Linked DNA regions of Homo sapiens: region 2 is linked to region 1. Evidence: promoter capture Hi-C in human tissues and cell types (Jung and others, 2019). All regions are on one chromosome and are shown on one strand. Each heading gives the region's core, a stretch centred on a gene start or on the middle of the fragment in contact. The rest is flanking DNA. Distances are from core to core; before and after follow the strand shown.

What was found. The method cuts DNA at HindIII sites, captures the fragments that hold promoters and counts their contacts. A contact is called where the count stands out against the background at its distance.
Region 2: a fragment that was not itself captured here is called in contact with the fragment with the promoter of SEMG2 in region 1 in 1 of the 25 tissues and cell types used here (aorta).

The regions. Positions count from the first base shown.
Region 1 is chr20:45,218,364-45,223,319 of GRCh38, forward strand. SEMG2 (semenogelin 2) reads left to right here and starts at 3,010. Exons shown (of 3, transcript NM_003008.3): 1 at 3,010-3,102; 2 at 3,346-4,956. The coding sequence starts at 3,027. The HindIII fragment of the contact is 14,800 bases long and covers 1-4,956 here.
Region 2 is chr20:44,969,006-44,973,921 of GRCh38, forward strand. STK4 (serine/threonine kinase 4) reads left to right here. Exons shown (of 11, transcript NM_006282.5): 2 at 3,073-3,153. Among named protein-coding and RNA genes, the nearest start is that of STK4, 5.0 kb to the left of the region's middle. The HindIII fragment of the contact is 4,792 bases long and covers 1-4,001 here.

The sequences.
Region 1 (4,956 bases), core at 1,760-4,259:
AGTCAGTGAGTGTGACTACAGGCTAGGGGTGGCCTGTGAAGCTGTTTCTTGGTTTCAGGACGTGGAAGTACAGCTTCTCAACTGGTCTGAAGACATGTCTGCCAGGGTCAGTCTACTGGGCTTTTTCTCAGGCCCAAGATGTGGGTGTAAGGCTGCTTGGATGGCCTACGAGAGGAAGGGAATGAGAGAGGAAAGAGGGCTTTTTCTCAGGCACTTGACACAGCTGCATGGCTGAGTGGCTAGGCTTTGAGCATTTCTGTAAGGGGTGGCCCAAGAAGATATTCTGTAGGCCTAGGGTGTAGGCATGGAGCTTCTTGGTTGTCCTTCATGTGTGACCACCAGAGGCAATCTGTAGGACTGTTTCTCAGACCTGGGACATGACCACATAACTACTTGGCTGGCTTGGGTATGCCCACCAGGGGTGGCCCATGGGCTGTTTCTCAGGTTTGGGAAATGGGCTCTCGGCAGCTGGGCCAGCGTGGTGTCAAGCCCAGCAGGGGAGCTTGTGAGTCTGTTTCTCAAGCTCTTATTGGGAGTATAGGGCCACTGAGCAGGCCATGGATGTGTCTCTGGAGGGAGAGAGTGTTACAGGGCTATTTCTCAGGTACTCAGTGTGGACACATAGCCACTGTGCTGCCACAGGGGCATATAAACTGTGTCAAGCTCAGTGACCTGTCTCCTACTTGGTGAACTTTAAAATATTCTACTATTTTTTCCTTGTTTATTTTTTATCATTTGATATTTTCCCAATCATGATACCACATCTAAGATGTATGCAGCACTATACCATGTTTATGCTTTCCAAATTACCGATTTCTGCTTTCATCTTTATCAATAGATTTATTTTTAATTTTGAAATGCTTTTTTTTCAAATTTCATTAAATCCAATCATGATATGAGTATCATAATCACATGTTGTGCCTAGTTTGCATTTTCCTGCTTTGTTTTTGCAAATCTTGTGCACCTTTGTTTTATCTGTATCTTTTGGACACTAGATTAGTTGGAAGTTTTGTTCTTGATCCATAAGTAAGATTAATATTTCAGACTCTTGTTTGTTCCGGTAATCTTGGAACACAACAGTTCCTGGTATTTCCTTAAGGGAAGTGTAAGGAAGATTATAGTGATTAGCAGGTACAGCAATAAATTTGTGTTCAGGAAAACTTTACTCTTTTCTTTTGGGGTCCCTGCCATAAGGAAATACTTACTGCCCTTAGGGCAAACAGATAAAACTGGTAAGATCTCAGAATGGCTCATAGAGAAACCACATAGCTCACATGCTTCAAGTTTGATGGCATAAGTAGCATTTTTTCCTATGGTTGGCCTTTCCCCTCTCCCCTTCCATATAGCATTGCTTACAGGAAGGTTAGGATTTTAAGAGAGAATAATAGAAAATAAGTTTCCAAGCCGTCCTTTCTCCAGAACTACCCTCCACAGTGTTCTGAATGCATACAGGGTCACTGTTCAAATGTTGCTGCTTCTCCTGTTGTCTTCTCATAACAAGGACTTTTTCAGTCAAAGTAAAGAAACTGGCCGGGTGCAGTGGCTCATGCCTGTAATCCCAGCAGTTTGGGAGGCTGAGGCGGGCGGATCACGAGGTCAGGAGATTGAGACCATCCTGGCTAACACGGTGAAACCCCGTCTCTACTAAAAATACAAAAAATTAGCCGGGCGTGGTGGCAGGCACCTGTAGTCCCAGCTACTTGGGAAGCTGAGGCAGGAGAATGGCATGAACCTGGGAGGCACAGCTTGCAGTGAGCCGAGATGGTGCCACTGCACTCCAGCCTGGGCGACAGAGCGAGACTCTGTCTCAAAAACAAACAAACAAAAAAAACAAAACAAACAAACAAACAAACAAAAAACCTTCCTTGGATTTTTCAAGAAGTTTTCACAATTGCAAAAAAACAAAACAAAACAACACAACACAACAAAACAAAACAAAAGCAAAAAAACCCTATGCTTCCACCCAAGGTAAAAATTTTAGCTTTAGGTCCACTCTCAATACATTATTTAATGAACTGAAGTTGGCAAATATTCCTCACAGCCTGTTGGAGGGTTCAGCAGTTTATTACAGAAGTATGAAATGCTTTTATTTAAAAAATGTATTTTGGTAAATACATTTTTGTTTAGGTAAATATCATCAAATAATCCAATTTGGAAACCAACATTCTTACTTCTTTTTCCAACAGTTGTTCCTATCATCATAAAAACATGTTAAATTTTTCTCATCCTTTCAAAAAATCTCTGGAGCTTACCTCACCCTCCAGATACAGCCTCACCTCTCATTCCACCATGAAATCAGACTTCTTGAGATGGTTTCAGCTGGACTCCATCCTTCAACTGACAACCCAACACAACTGTATTCATCTCTCGTTAACATTACTAGCAGTGAGTAACATCAGAAAGTTTTTGACACATGTTAGTCTTTTTTGTGATGAACTTCACAGATACATTTGACATTGGTATGCCTCATTTATTTGTTGAAATTTTTTTCTTTGGCTTCCATGAAGTTTCTTTCTCTTCTGTATCATTCTACTTCTATGACTGCTCCTTCTCGAGTAAAACAGAATGTGTCTCAGGATTACTTTAAAACAAGACAAAGTATAGAGTTATACCTAAAATTTAGTATTTAAGTTATTGGATCAGAAAGGAAACTCGCATTTAGAGTATGAAGGCATTGTCAGCCACCAATTACTTTTGTAACCTGAAGCTAGTCTCCTTCCTACTCCGGACTGAATTTCTTCTGTATAATGCAAGCGATCTGGCATGATGATATACAAAGACCGATAAAATTTTGCTGGGGATTCTGAAAGTAAAAAAAATTGCCTTTGATATTATGTCCCCATGCTAAGTCCCTGGGGACTTTGACATTATCCCCCACTGAGCAGGGGTGAGGAAGCTGGCATTTACTAATAAGCTATGAAAGGGCAGTGCCTTTTGACATTTCAGCTCCACCCATAGCACACCCACTCAAGGAACATATAAATGAAGAGATCCGCTCAGTTCTCAGACAAGATTTTTCAAGCAAGATGAAGTCCATCATCCTCTTTGTCCTTTCCCTGCTCCTTATCTTGGAGAAGCAAGCAGCTGTGATGGGACAAAAAGGTGAGTGGAGAGGGTAAGCCTTGGGGAAAGCTACTTTAAAAAAATGGCCTCTAAGGATATTCAGGGTGCAAACAGTAACCTGTTCAGGCACAGATTCTTCTCCTTGATGAGAATTGATTTTTCTCCACCCAACGCTGTAGGCTTTTGGAAATATCAGAAATTTGTTGGGAAAAGGTGGGAGGTAAGAGTTGCAAGAGAGCTTTGGAGATAATGAATGCATACATTTCTATTATCAATTACCAGGTGGATCAAAAGGCCAATTGCCAAGCGGATCTTCCCAATTTCCACATGGACAAAAGGGCCAGCACTATTTTGGACAAAAAGACCAACAACATACTAAATCCAAAGGCAGTTTTTCTATTCAACACACATATCATGTAGACATCAATGATCATGACTGGACCCGAAAAAGTCAGCAATATGATTTGAATGCCCTACATAAGGCGACAAAATCAAAACAACACCTAGGTGGAAGTCAACAACTGCTCAATTATAAACAAGAAGGCAGAGACCATGATAAATCAAAAGGTCATTTTCACATGATAGTTATACATCATAAAGGAGGCCAAGCTCATCATGGGACACAAAATCCTTCTCAAGATCAGGGGAATAGCCCATCTGGAAAGGGATTATCCAGTCAATGTTCAAACACAGAAAAAAGGCTATGGGTTCATGGACTAAGTAAAGAACAAGCTTCAGCCTCTGGTGCACAAAAAGGTAGAACACAAGGTGGATCCCAAAGCAGTTATGTTCTCCAAACTGAAGAACTAGTAGTTAACAAACAACAACGTGAGACTAAAAATTCTCATCAAAATAAAGGGCATTACCAAAATGTGGTTGACGTGAGAGAGGAACATTCAAGTAAACTACAAACTTCACTCCATCCTGCACATCAAGACAGACTCCAACATGGACCCAAAGACATTTTTACTACCCAAGATGAGCTCCTAGTATATAACAAGAATCAACACCAGACAAAAAATCTCAGTCAAGATCAAGAGCATGGCCGGAAGGCACATAAAATATCATACCCGTCTTCACGTACAGAAGAAAGACAACTTCACCATGGAGAAAAGAGTGTACAGAAAGATGTATCCAAAGGCAGCATTTCTATCCAAACTGAAGAGAAAATACATGGCAAGTCTCAAAACCAGGTAACAATTCATAGTCAAGATCAAGAGCATGGCCATAAGGAAAATAAAATATCATACCAATCTTCAAGTACAGAAGAAAGACATCTCAACTGTGGAGAAAAGGGCATCCAGAAAGGTGTATCCAAAGGCAGTATTTCGATCCAAACTGAAGAGCAAATACATGGCAAGTCTCAAAACCAGGTAAGAATTCCTAGTCAAGCTCAAGAGTATGGCCATAAGGAAAATAAAATATCATACCAATCTTCGAGTACAGAAGAAAGACGTCTCAACAGTGGAGAAAAGGATGTACAGAAAGGTGTATCCAAAGGCAGTATTTCTATCCAAACTGAAGAGAAAATACATGGCAAGTCTCAAAACCAGGTAACAATTCCTAGTCAAGATCAAGAGCATGGCCATAAGGAAAATAAAATGTCATACCAATCTTCAAGTACAGAAGAAAGACGACTCAACTATGGAGGAAAGAGCACGCAGAAAGATGTATCCCAAAGCAGTATTTCTTTCCAAATTGAAAAGCTAGTAGAAGGCAAGTCTCAAATCCAGACACCAAATCCTAATCAAGATCAATGGTCTGGCCAAAATGCAAAAGGAAAGTCTGGTCAATCTGCAGATAGCAAACAAGACCTACTCAGTCATGAACAAAAAGGCAGATACAAACAGGAATCCAGTGAGTCACATAATATTGTAATTACTGAGCATGAGG
Region 2 (4,916 bases), core at 356-2,855, 250 kb before region 1:
TAGATGGCCATCTCCCTGTGTCTCCATGTTCTTCCTTCTGTACCTGTCAGTGTCCTAATCTCCTCTTATAAGGACACCAGTCATACTGGATTAGGGCATGCCCATATGACCTCATTTTATCTTAATTACCTCTTTAAAGGCCTTGTCTCCAAATACAGTCACATTCTTAGGTGGTGGGTATTAGGACTTCAGCATATGAATTGGGGTAAGCTGGGGACACAGTTTTATTATGTAAGATTTTGTCCATTTATCATGTATAGTTGTTGTAATCCATATCAAATTCTGTGTGGAAAAAGAAATAGTTACACATAAAATGAACTTTATGGGAGTTCTGAAATGGGAGAAAGCTTTGAGAATTAGCCAGACCTGTAAGTGACTACTTCATAGACACCATTACTTGTGTTTGGAAAGATACAGGTGTCTTTTCAGAAATTCAGATGGCATGTGTTTCCAATAACCCCAGTGCAGGAAATGCCCTTTGTGTTCGTGAGTTTGACATTTGTGTGTGTGTGTGATTAAGTGATGACAGATTGGTGTCTCATATAGGAGTTAATAATTTTAAAAAATGAGTTGCCATTAGATTAATGTTATAGTGGAAGGCGTAGAGTGCATTCCTGGGATGCTGGCCATCCACATGGCCATCTGACTTAGGAGAGGAGCATCCACCAGTATTTGGTCCATGGATGCTCTGTTGATCAGGCTTGTTCATTTATGAGCAAGTGCTGAAACCGTCTGGAACCTGGGGAAGTCCCAGATAAGAGAACTGTATTATCAGAGTCAGGCTGTTTTGGTAATAGTGTTTTTTCTGTGAAGAGTCATGGTATAAAATATTATTATGAATCACTTATCAAAATATTTTTATAGAAATGTTGATAATTCAGTAATACTTCTTAGGTGAAATTCTGTTTTATTGTGATAATTCAAAGATTGCTGATGAAATTCGTGATTCCCATCATTACATTTGTGAATCCATTTCACAAATATATTTTGACCACCTCTTGGTTATCAGGCACCAGAGATGTAATAGCGCCTTAAGTTCAAGTTGTTTTTAATAGCCCCGGATCAAAAACAAACAAAAAAGCACTTAGATTGTTTCAAAGATGTATTCGAGCCGTCATATGCTAAATGACGAGTTAATGGGTGCAGCACACCAGCATGGCACATGTATACATATGTAACTAACCTGCACATTGTGCACATGTACCCTAAAACTTAAAGTATAATAATAATTAAAAAAAAAGAAAAAAAAAGTTTGTCAAAGTATTATCAGAGGTTTGCAGCTGTCTATCTCAAGGCAGTGGCAATTTCCTTTGTTATGCTGTGGTCCCTGAAGTAGTTGAAATAGTGACTTTTGCATTTTGTAAACCACAGAGAGTCAACACTTCAAAGAAACATACTTGATCTTCCTTTGTATAAGCTGTTTATACAACTTTGATTATACTTGAGAAGTGAGGTATTGTCCAATGTTTATACAATTACAATTCAGGACTTTACCAAAAAAACCCTGGCATATGAGATGTTCGTTCTGACTTCTGAGTTTATAGAAGTTTCAGTTCTGAAGTTTAAGAGGAGTTTCACTTCATCCCTTTTCATTTTGAAGGTAGGAGTTTTTATGATGTCATTGGTATTTAATTTTTAGGACCTTTTGATTTTCAAAGGTCACTGTGATCATTTTGTTCTGTTGATATCAAGTTAAGGCAGTTTTGACTTGGAGCAGTTCTCCATTTCTCTAGTTTATAGTCCTTGATATTCATAAACTATAAGATTGTCCTTCTGAGATCAGTGTTTATTGGTAGATACACTTGATGTGGTCAGGGTTTTTGTTGGTTTGTTTTATTTTTTGTCTTCTAATTTTAATCTGTTTTATTTAGGAAGGTACACATTTGTGTGTGTGTGTGTGTGTGTGTATGTGTGTGTATTTAAGTCTTTTGTTGTAATAATTGATATTATCCAGCTAGTCTAAACCTTTTTTTTTCTACAAAGAGGTCTCCAGTGTGACTACTTCCATATTTCACCGTTTCCTCAGCTCTCTATTCTTTGTTGTTCTTTGTAGTTTCAGGAAGCCATTGTGTAGACTACACACACACACACACACACACACACACACACACACACACACATATTCCTTGGCAAGTTCCTTCTTTAAGCTCATTAGTAATTTTCAGAGATCTCAGAGTTTTAAAAAAATGTTAATTTATAACCTCCCATGTTTGTTATGATTGTCTAGCATAGTCAGAAATCTGAATTATCTGGAAATTGTGAGCAGCCAAGTACCTTTGATTTTTGGGACTAGTCAAAGGTATGTATCTACTCATAGGAAGGTCTTTGTGAGAATATCTGAAACTCACAGCTGCCTAGTGATTTTTCACTTTTGATCATATCTAAATGTACACTTTCCACTTTCTGTTTCTGTGATACCTACAGAATTTATGTGTTTTGACAAACTTACAAAAAACTTGCTAATGGAAGAGCAAAGGTTTCCCGTGTCTTCCTTAGTCTGCAGTCCAATTCATAGTTATGTTTCAATTCATAGTTACCTTACATTAAACACCTTTTCTGAAGAGATAATTACATCATTTTAATTCATGAAATCTCAAGATTTAAATAGATTTTGAAGGATACATCGAATGCTTGAATCTACAGCATTTCAGCCACATGACTTTTTTTTTTTTTTTTTTTTTTTTTGAGACAGTCTCTCTCTGTCACCCAAGCTTGAGCGTAGTGGCGCAATTTCGGTTCACTGCAAACTCTGCCTCCTGGGTTCACGCCATTCTTATGCTTCAGCGTCCTGAGTAGCTGGGATTACAGGCATGCGTTACCACGCCCAGCTAATTTTTTTGTATTTTTAGTGGAGACGGGGTTTCACCATGTTAGCCAGGATGGTCTCGATCTCCTGATCTCGTGATCTGCCTGTATCGGCCTCCCAAGAAACCTTGTTTCTTAAAACAGTCTTAACTAGTGAAGTCTGTATAGAGAAGTTCCTGAGATGCTAATTATAAAAAAAAGATATATTTTATGTTCTAGTTCCTAGCAAATAAAATGTATTTTGTGTTTATATTTCTTTATTCACAGGCAGCTGAAAAAGTTGGATGAAGATAGTTTAACCAAACAACCAGAAGAAGTATTTGATGTCTTAGAGAAACTTGGAGAAGGGTGAGTGTAAAGAAACTATAGGTAGGTCATTGGGTCCCAGTCTTTTTCCTGCCCCAGAAGAAGCAGAAGGATATGAACCTTTCAGCATTGTTCTAGGTGGGGTGGAAGGTAAATTTACAGCTTGTGATGTCCTTCTTCGCTTTACTCCAATCCCTATTATAGACAGATTTAGTGATTCCTGGTCTTTTTAACACGAAGAATATCTATTGTTTTCTCTTTTGTAGGATCTGTATGATTTTATCTACTTAACAGATAGCACTAATTAGATTAAAATTCTATAAGAAACTTTTTAATTTGCTGTTCATAATTTCTGATTGGTATGCAATAACTGTTTCAATGAAAATCAATGTAATTTAGTATTTTAATATTTGCACCTTTGTGAAATATAGTAAATAAATTAAGCACTATCACCACCTTCACAGCTACTTAGGAGATCCACAATCCTGGGTTGGGAGCCAGTGGATTTCCTGAAACACAGATTTGTTAATGCGTTTATAAAATACTGATGAAATGATATTAGTAATGTGCAGTGACCATCATTGACTTTCATGATACAATTAAGTTTACATAATTTTTATACTTTTATATATCATTTTAATTCAATCCTGTGTATTTATTCCTTCTTCTGTAATGACCAGGAAATTAAAATGTTAATGACACCATTTCTTAAGTTTTTCTTGTTAATTTTTGAATAGGCGATACAATCATATGATTCAAAATTTAAAAAAATATTAAGACGCATACAATAAAAAAAAAAAAAAACTGCCTCCTACCTCTCTCTGTCTCTTAGCCACCCAGAATCACCAAGGGTAGCGGCTTCTTGTGTGTCTTTCAGAGACAGGCTATGTGTGTGCGAGCGCACACTCGTGTTTGTGTGTGTGTGTGTCTGTATTTTTAATCCCTTGGGAGTATTTCTGGATCAAGGGAAGACCTGACATACTAACTTGTAAAAACAACTACTGACTGATGACTATATGCTCTTTAAAATAATTTCCTTTATGTCATTAGATTATTTTTTGGGTTTAGTATTTTTTATGTTAGGAGACAGATTTACAACGTTAAACCCAATCCTGGATTACATGAAATGGTTTTTTTATGATTTACCTCCTTGTAAAAAACATGAGTCATCGTCTTTTTGTAAGTTGGAAAAATACTCTTTGGAATCCAGCAAGAAATCAAGCAGAGAAGGGAAGTAAAAATGACACACCAGCTGTGCTGTGAAAAGACAAGTCCAAGATGAATCTGAAGACTGCCAGTTGACTGGCATCATTAAAGGTATGGGGAAATGACAGTCCCTCTACATCTGTTGCCTGCCATTTTCAGCTTTAGCTTGCCATCCTTGCTATTTTCCCTAAGGCAGCAAGGCTGTGACCTTTAATCTAACAATGCTCATAAGTTATACTTAGAATAAGTTCAAGACTGATAGGCATAATTGACTATGTAACTTATTTCTCTCATTTCTAATACAGTTTGCTCTTACTACTACAATGTGAGGCTGACCTGGGTTAAAATCCTTGCTCTACTGTTTACTGGTCATAATAGACAAGTGGGCTTAAGCAAATTGCTTACTATTTTGGAGGCTCACAATCCTCATCTGTAAAGTTGGGATAATAATATATCAATTCATAGAGTTGTGTTATTACCTGAGGTAATTGGGGTAAAGTATAGTGCTTATCACAATAATAAATGTTCAGTAAGTGGCAACTATTGCTATTCTATTTTAAATGTATCAACTGAAGCATTTTCAAGACCTCATCATGTCA